Linked DNA regions of Homo sapiens: all the other regions are linked to region 2. Evidence: promoter capture Hi-C in 16 types of primary human blood cells and fetal thymus (Javierre and others, 2016). All regions are on one chromosome and are shown on one strand. Each heading gives the region's core, a stretch centred on a gene start or on the middle of the fragment in contact. The rest is flanking DNA. Distances are from core to core; before and after follow the strand shown.

Region 1 (2,789 bases), core at 66-2,565, 200 kb after region 2:
TTGGTGCTGATGCTGCCATCTCTGTGCTGAAGGATGGAAGACATTTGAAAAACAACTGTTTTGGCATTGGCGTTGGGGTAGTTTTGACTGGAGGTGCTGCTTTTCTTGCAGGAAACGTAGCTCACATCCTCATACCCTCTGTGAGAAGCTCCTTTAAGTGTTGTGTGTAGCCCCTCTCAGCACAGTAGAGTTTGAGAAAGCCCTGGTGCTGTGGATGTTGCTCACTGAAATGCACCCTGACAGACAGCATAGCGCCACAGCTTTTATGTGTAAACACACTTGATGTGAAAATCTAGCTAATAGCGCTTGGAACTGTCCTTCATCTGCTTAGGCGTTGGAGAGAAGTTTTCAACTTGGGAACCAACCAAACGGGAGCTTGAACTGCTGAAGCACAACCCGAAAAGGAGAAAGATCACCTCGAACTGCACCATAGGTGGGTGGAGCGTGTCGTCACTCTCAGCTAGGCTTCTTTCCAGGGTTTAAAAGTAAATACAGAATTGTGGGTTTCTTAAGTCCACATGATTCTGTTGAAGCCCTGCATAACTGTCACTCATCAATGTGCTCAGCAACCAGCTCTTGAGCACCTGTTCTCTGCAGGGACCTGCAGTGGGCTTGGGGCGCAGAGTGATGCGTAGCAACAGCCCTGCCCTCACAGCCTTCAGCGTCTGTGTGGGTAAAGGGACTCAAGTTGATTTTGGCCAGGGTGAGGCTGGGCACAGTAATCTTCAGGGAGAGAAATGATGTGTGTGAGTGTAAGTGTTCGCTGAATTTTCTACAAATTGAGGGAATACCCTTTAAAACTTTTTCTTTTTCTTTTTTGAGACAGAGTCTTGCTCTGTTGCCCAGGCTGGAGCACAGTTCACTGCACCCTCTGTCTCCTGGGCCCAAGCGATCCTTCCACCTCAGCCTCCCAAGTAGCTGGGATTGCAGGTGCACACCACCATGTTTGGATAATTTTTGTGTTTTGCGTAGAGACATCTCACCATGTTGCCCAGGCTGGTCTCGAACTCCTGGGCTCCAGTGATCCTCATGCCTTGGCTTCCCAGAGTGCTGGGTTACAAGTATGAGCCCCTGCCCTGGCCCTAGAACATTTTTAAAAACCTGTTTTGTTTGTTCATTAGGCTTCACTCTGACCTGGCCTGTTGTCGTAGAAACTATATTTGTGTAATTCTGTCAAAGCATACAATGGCTGAAGTGGGAGGGGTCCATGGTGGTGGACATTCTTCAATACCGTTCATGTAAAAGTGGCATAAAAACTAGCAGAATGCGATATCTCATCGTGTTCTGGCTTGAATGAATGAATAAAAGAAAATGAGTATGTAGAGGTAGAGGAAGCCGCTGGGATCCAGCGACACCTGTGGTTCAGCACACAGGTAACTCCTGCTCTCTGGTGATTTGTGTCCAGGTCTGCGTGGGCTGATCAACCTTGGGAACACATGCTTCATGAACTGCATCGTGCAGGCCCTGACCCACACGCCACTTCTGCGGGACTTCTTCCTGTCTGACAGGCACCGCTGTGAGATGCAGAGCCCCAGCTCCTGTCTGGTCTGTGAGATGTCCTCACTGTTTCAGGAGGTGAGCGCCATTGACTTCTGCAGGGGAACATTTCTGTTACTTTGTTTTCACCTTCAAAAAAAAAATTTAAGGTGGACCATGATAAAGGAAGATACATTTAGAACCTTTTGTAGTAAGTTAATGTTTAATATACATGTCTATTATGGAAAACACAGTTTTCCAAAAAGGGAAGACCTGGCGTGATTTTTGGGGACGCACTGCTGACTCAGAACAAGGAGAAGCCCTTTGAGAGGCTTGTGGCAGAGACTTCCCTGGTGGGTGACATTTGTCTCTAAAGACGGGTGATTCTCCCCCTTCCTCTTCCTCCATGGTCTACCTTCCTGGCTCAGAAAGGCACGCATGTGTCACCCTCCTGTGTCCTCCTGGTATGCGAGTCTCCTCCACCGCCAGGTCTCTCTAAGCATGCCCCATCAGAGCCTCTGTCCTCATGAGCTACGCGCTGCACGTTGGCTGTTCCTGTGGGCTGCACGTGTGGCGTTCCTGTCCACTTCTGTCCCCGGCATCAGAGCATGGCAGCGTTCAGAGCAAGGCGTTCACGGCTGCCGCCTCAGCCCTCACCGGCTCCGTGACCTAGACATGCTTCTCAGAGCTGAAGCAGCTCAGTTACCTCAACTAATAAGCAGGCTGGTGCCTGTTCTTCAGGTGCCTTGCACAGGAGCCAGCCAACAGCCCTGGCCTGTTCCCATTCGTAACCTCTGCGAGAGATGCAGCCACGCCAGCTCACTCATGTCTGTCTGGTCACTGGTCGCTTTTGTGGGACAGCCACAGAGTTGAGCAGTTGGACAGAGGCTATCCAACCTGCAAAGCTGAAATTATTTACTGTCCAAGCCTTTCAAAAACAGATTGCCAGCCTCTGGTCGAGCCTAACCGATTTCCTCAAAGTACCTGCAATGTGCCATAACTGCTGGGGACACGGCCCAAATAGGAGAAAGGAGGGTGCAGCTGGGAAGTTGGTGGGTGGTTGTATCACTGACTTTAGTGATAAGCTCACTTGTGTTAGATTGTTTTTAGACTCCGGCTTGTTAAGGTGTAAATTACAGTCACACCCACCTTCTAGCCTATAGATAGATGAGTTTCGACGAATGCATAGTTGTGTAACTGCTGCTACTCAAGATGAAGAACTGTTACCTCTCCGAACTCCCTCGTGCCCCTCCGAAGTCAACCCCCAGTCCCCAGACCCTGGTAGCTGCCGATCTGTCTTCGGTCCCTTGAGT
Region 2 (2,857 bases), core at 13-2,512:
AGGAAATCGAAAGGAATCCTCAACAAGGAGAGGGTCGCCTTTCCGTCTGCTGGCCCTCCTGCTGTGGCCTGCGGCGGGGTGGGAAGGGGGGTTCCACTACACAGAAGTGTGACGCGCAGGGCTGGGCTTCTTCTAGGCTGAATTCGGGACAGATTTTCGCATTTGTTTTGCTCAAGTATTTATGGGACCAATTAATATGTTTAGCAACGTTGTCTGTGGGAGCAGTAGAGGAACTGAGAAGTTCACAAACTGTAAGAGATCCTCCAAAGAGTCCACAGGTCTGAGGCAGCAGCACCTGGGAATCTCTGGGCTCCAGTTAGTCCTTCCTGACTTTGACTCGTTACAGCAGTGTCCAGACAGGGATATGTCGGGTCCTGTGGCAGGGTTCCCGTCAGGTGGGATGGTTTAGCCCCGCATCTGCCTTCAAAGATCCCGAGATTATGCCGTCGCAGCGGCCAGGGCAGGAGTGGGTGCGTGGCAGGGACTGAGTCTAAGAGGCCTGGAGGCCCTGTCTAAAACAGAGCTGTCGCTGGGCCCTCTCGCCTTCAAGCAGTTATCATACAGCTATTCCCCTTTCTTGTTTTCAGACCCTCTCCTCTAACAGCCTGCACCTGCAAGCAGGGACCTCCGTGGCAGCAGGGACAGCGTGTCTGTCTCGGCCTCCAAAGTACCCCGGAGTCTAAGAGAACTGGGGGAGGATGGTGCGGGAGCAGCGCCCGCCTCCAAGGAGGGCCCGGGCGGCGCCTCCCGCCCCTCGGTGACCTTATGGGCCAAGGCTGTGAAGGGCAGGCGTGGCGACGCGGAGGGGCCCGGCGCTAGTAGCCCGCAGACAGCGCGGCGGCCCCCAGCGGGAGAGGCAGCCTGGCGGCCAGGACAGCGCGGCCGGGCGCCTCCGCGCAGTGCTCTGGGAGTTGTAGGCACTTGCCTCTCCTCTCTCCTTCAGCTACTGGCTCTCGAAACTCAAGGACCTACCGGTGGGTGGGCGCCTGTGACTCCCAGGCTGCGAACGCCGGGAACTCAGTTTCTTCAGAAATGCTCGAACCAGGACGGCTCCTGGAGTCCTCGCGCCCTCGCAGAAGGACTACGGGCCCCGGCGACCCCGGGGGCGGGGCTTCCGGCGCGCTGCCTTGTGGGCACGGTAGTTCCGCCGGGTCTGGCTTCCGCCTGCCGAGCGGCCCCGGACCGCAGGCCGGACTACACTTCCCGTCGGCCCGCCTGCTCTCCCGATGCCGCCTTGGCGCGAGACGTTGGCAAGCAGAGTGTCTCCAAGATGGCCGCTTGGGGAAGGAGGCGTCTTGGCCCGGGCAGCAGTGGCGGCAGCGCCCGAGAGAGGTGAGATCCAAGGGCTTGTTGCCCCCAGTGCAGGCGGCTCAGCGGCCGGAGAGCCCAGCGCGGCCTCCGAGGGCTGCAGCAGCCTTCCTTCCCTGGTTTCCCCGCGCTCCCCCTACCCTCGCCGGGCATACTGGGTTCCAGTTCCGGAGGATCCGGGATCCGGGTGGGAGCGAGGTCGAAGGCCTCGGCGGAGAGCTTAGGGGAAGGGGCGTTAGCCGGGCTGAGTAAGGTAGGCAGCGGCCATGCGGGGCGGGGCCCGAGGCCGGGCCGTGCTGAAAGGAACTGGCGCCCAGCGCAGGCCTCAGGGACCCGCCTAGCTGCCCGCGGGCCGATCGGCTGCTGAAGCACCCTTCCCGCCTGGGCACGCGCGTGGCCATCTCGGCCGCGGCCCCAGACGTGTAGAGGAAGGCAGGGCCCCCGGAGAGAGAAAGAAGGGGAAGCCTTCACAGAGCAGGCCGGCCGCGGCAGGGGTAGTTTGATCTGCACGTTTACTAGGGAGCTTTAGCTCCCGCCAGATGTGTCTCTTCCGAGCCCAGAGCCGGCCACTTCCTCGAGGGAAGATTCTGAAGACTTTTGGATGGTTCTGTGCAAGCGCTCCTGCCGTAGAAGTCCTTTAAAGTGACCTTTCCTAATGAATGGTGTGTGGGCAGGGAGCTAGGAGCGTGTTTCTTCCAACAGGGACCTCCATTTGAATAACTGATTTCTAGAAGATGAGATTGGAGTAGTTTCCGTGTTTCATGTTCAAGTTGCAGTTTTTGCATCTGGGAAGCAGTTTCAGCTAGTGGAAACCACTAGAAGCTGTTCAGCCACTAGAAATTTGGGAGAAGATGTATTGGTGGAGCCACCTGGATTAACTGTCCGCTAAAGCTTGATTGTTATAGCAGCGGTCAGCAAAAAAGGAAAAGTTTTTGTTTTGCTGGTTCTCCCCCTCCCCGTCTTTTTGGTGAGGATTGTCTAACAGAAAAGTTATCTTCCTCTCAACTACTCTGCATTATTCCTTTTCTGTGACTGATTCCATCCCGTGTTCATTGCTATTGCTTGCAGATGGCTTTCCCAGCTGGGAAGATTCTTCCTGTTTGGCAGTTGTGATAGAATCCTTTAGCTTGCTTGCACTTTATTCTTTAGCCCAGTTATCCAGCGTTGCCCATTCTGCATTTCCTCTTCCTTGGAAAAGCAGTGGTAAACACACTTTTGTTTTTCTAACTCCCGCCTGGTATTAGATTGGACCATTTAAATAAGTTACCTCAATGGTTTTCAGATGCTCTTAAAAACTAGCAAACATTTTCAAGATATTCAATGCAAACAGTAATACGAAATAACCTGTTTAGAAAACAAAGTATTAGAAACATACGCCCTCTTGTTGGACTAAAAGCATCTGAAAAGAGCCGAATAGGGATGCCTCAGGCAGGGAACAGGAGCCTTGCCAGCACAGGTTAAGCTTTTATTGATCTAAGAAAATAGATGCTGAGAATTGTTTTTGTTTTGGCTTGAGACAACTGTTTATTCAAAATGGATCTGCAAATTA
Region 3 (2,700 bases), core at 107-2,606, 150 kb after region 2:
GCACTTGGGAATGTGGATTCTCAGGCCCCGCTCTGGACCTACAAAATCACAAACTCGGGGTGCAGCCAGGCACCCCAAGCTTCTTCTGTTGTGTGCTCTGGTTTGAGAAGGATTGTGGTGGAGCATTAACATTTTCCAGCTGATGAGCAAATATTATCTCAGTATTCCGTTTCCCATTACTGATTATAAAATTCCCTTTTCCTCATATCGTCTTTTGTCTTGTCTATGTCTTCCTGCTGGTTCCCTCACTAATGAGTTAAACACAATTTTCATGCCATGCTCACTACTCGTTTTTATGAGGATTATGTTTTTAACATTTTGAAAATTAGACTCTGACACCAACACTAAGGGAAATGCACTGAGTTTCTGTTTCTGGTTGTGCTTCCTGGTGGCTGCCGACAGGGCCTCTGTCACACTCCAGTGGCCTCCCAGCACCTAGTGAACAGCCACCCTCTGTTTGGGGAACGTTCCACATCAAGGGTCTCTCATCTTCAGGATGGGAAGGCCAGAAATTCACTTTCGCAGACTCCATTTCCTCAAGGGTACAACACATGATCAGGATCCACCACATGGGCGTGCCTGGGAGGGACCGCAGGAGACAGTGCAAACATGCTTCCCAGGCCCATTTTCTGGTGGAGGTAACTGGAGGGGTTCTCACTCTGTGGCCTCCTAGAATTTGGGTGGTTTCTTTGTCTTTTCATTTATTTATTTTAGAGATGAAGTCTTGTTGTGTTGCCCAGGCTGGTCTCAAACTCGTGACCTCAAGTGCTCCTCCTGCCTTGGCCTCCCAAAGTGTTGTTGATGGCAGCAGTGGGACATCCGGAGTGGCCACTGCCATCATGCCAGCTGCAGCAGGGAGGTACAGGCAGTGGTGGCAGGAGGCAGGAGTGGCTGCAGGAGCAGCAGTGGCAGTGGTGGGTCCCCTGTGCCCCATCTCAGAGGCAGCCAATGGCATCATCCCCACCCTCACATAGCCAGGCAGGACGCTCTCCCAGGCCCAGAGCCTCTGCTGTGGCTTCAACCTCGCTCCCCACCACATCCCGGGAGCCCGTGAGCACCGAGCCAAAGGCACAGCTGGGGCTTTCAGGGCCAGCCCTGAGAGCATCAGGTTCATTTGTGCGGGGTTGGCCAGGGTCGCCCTGCCACCTGCACCTCACCTGCCACCACTGCAGGGAAAACACAGAGAGGAGGTGAGCAGTCCTTGGAGCCCACCCCTGGGAGCCCTCCAAAGCCGGCCACCCTGGGAGCCACCAAGATGGGGCCAGGCTGAGTTGCCTGCCAGTGGGGGAGCAGCACGGTAGAGCACGGAGGGACGGGCAGAAAGGGGCTCCTAGGCGGAGCTGGACCCAGGGCAGTGCCATGCTCCATGGTACTGGGAGGAGCCAGAAGCAGAAGAGCCCCACCCTCCCAAGCACAGCTGCAGCAGCCCAAGTCACAGCTAGGGACCCTGGCCTCCCTGTACTCTTGGGGGCTGGAAGCAGGCAGGAGCCCTACCCTCCTGGGGGCAGCTGCAGCTGCCCAAGCCGTGGCTGAGGACCCAGGCATCTCTGCACTCTTGGGGACCAGGATGGCCCCCCTTCCTCCCACATGCTGGGAGTGTCTGCTCCCACTATCTGGCCTCTCCCTGCTCCTGGCACCCACTACAATCTTGAAGCAAGGATGGGGCTGAGCCTGGGCACTGTCACAGACCAGCCAGGTGTGCACACACTCAGGGCAGCACTGACATACCAGCCCCCTGCCACCTCAGCCCCCTCTGGACTTGGGCACTGATGAGCATGGGAAGGAGGCTGACAGTGGGCTGAGGGCAGCTTGGTGCTGGTCTGCAGGCACCCTTTGGCATGAACAGCCTAGGCTTCATGAATGGCAGCAGGAGGCATACAGGCCCCAGGGTGGAAGGCGACGGGTCCCCAGTGAAGCCCCAACTTCAAGCTAGGGAGGGCCTGAAGCCCGGGGGCTGGGCTGCTGGTCCTGTGGACTGGAATGGGAACTTGTGGTGCTTTTTCTGGGCCTACCCATGGCTGCCCATGGACCAATTGGCATGTGCTTCCTCCCTTCTGAGGCCCATAAAAACCCTGGACTTAGCCAGACCAGAAGAGATGTCGGGACTGCCAGCTGTGGAGAGGAGCTACCCACTCTAAGGTCTCCTCTCTGCTGAGAGCAGGGAAATGACAAGACAACCTTCTCTGCGGGGGAGCTACCCTCTCTACTGAGCGCTAAGTACTCATCGGGACGACCTGCCTAGGAGAGAGGAGCTACCCTCTCTATTAAGGGCTGAACACTCACTGGGACACCCTGGCTACGGAGAGGAGCTACTCACCGTGGCTCTCCTCTGAGCTGTTCCATTGCTCAATAAAGCTCCTCTTCATCTTGCTCACCCTTCACTTATCTGAGTACTTCATTCTTCCCGGACACAGGACAAGAACTCAGGACCTGCTAAATTGCAGGGCTAAGAGAGCTGTAACACAAACAGGGCTGAAACACACCCCTTGCTTGCCATGTTATGGGTGACAAGGAGAAAAAAAGAGAGGAGAGAAGAGCTGTGGCCCTTTGGGGAACCCAGACCTAGGAGCTCCCTGAGCCAGGGTTGTGCCTCCCCCTTTATGGCTCTGTGGTTCCTGGTGTCTCCAAGCTTCCAGGCACCACTGTGTTCCTCAGTGTCAGCTGTGGAAGTTGCTTATGGTATGCCTGGTCTAGCCACAG

Evidence for each region. Contacts are between HindIII fragments. The CHiCAGO score rates a contact against its expected background, and 5 or more counts as called.
Region 1: a fragment that was not itself captured here is called in contact with the fragment with the promoter of TMEM11 in region 2 in 1 of 17 cell types (total B cells); the score reaches 5.9 in total B cells.
Region 3: a fragment that was not itself captured here is called in contact with the fragment with the promoter of TMEM11 in region 2 in 1 of 17 cell types (total B cells); the score reaches 6.1 in total B cells.

The regions. Positions count from the first base shown.
Region 1 is chr17:21,016,728-21,019,516 of GRCh38, reverse strand. It overlaps USP22 (ubiquitin specific peptidase 22), which reads left to right. Exons shown (of 13, transcript NM_015276.2): 4 at 332-433; 5 at 1,406-1,575. Among named protein-coding and RNA genes, the nearest start is that of USP22, 25 kb to the left of the region's middle. The HindIII fragment of the contact is 5,848 bases long and covers 1-2,789 here.
Region 2 is chr17:21,212,566-21,215,422 of GRCh38, reverse strand. TMEM11 (transmembrane protein 11) reads left to right here and starts at 1,262. Exons shown (of 2, transcript NM_003876.3): 1 at 1,262-1,332. The coding sequence starts at 1,271. TMEM11-DT (TMEM11 divergent transcript) reads right to left here and starts at 1,098. Exons shown (of 2, transcript NR_184102.1): 1 at 973-1,098. RefSeq lists enhancers at 281-490, 1,261-1,360 and silencers at 651-920, 1,041-1,180. The HindIII fragment of the contact is 13,322 bases long and covers 1-2,201 here.
Region 3 is chr17:21,060,069-21,062,768 of GRCh38, reverse strand. No RefSeq gene overlaps it. Among named protein-coding and RNA genes, the nearest start is that of LINC01563, 14 kb to the left of the region's middle. RefSeq lists an enhancer at 667-786. The HindIII fragment of the contact is 2,550 bases long and covers 82-2,631 here.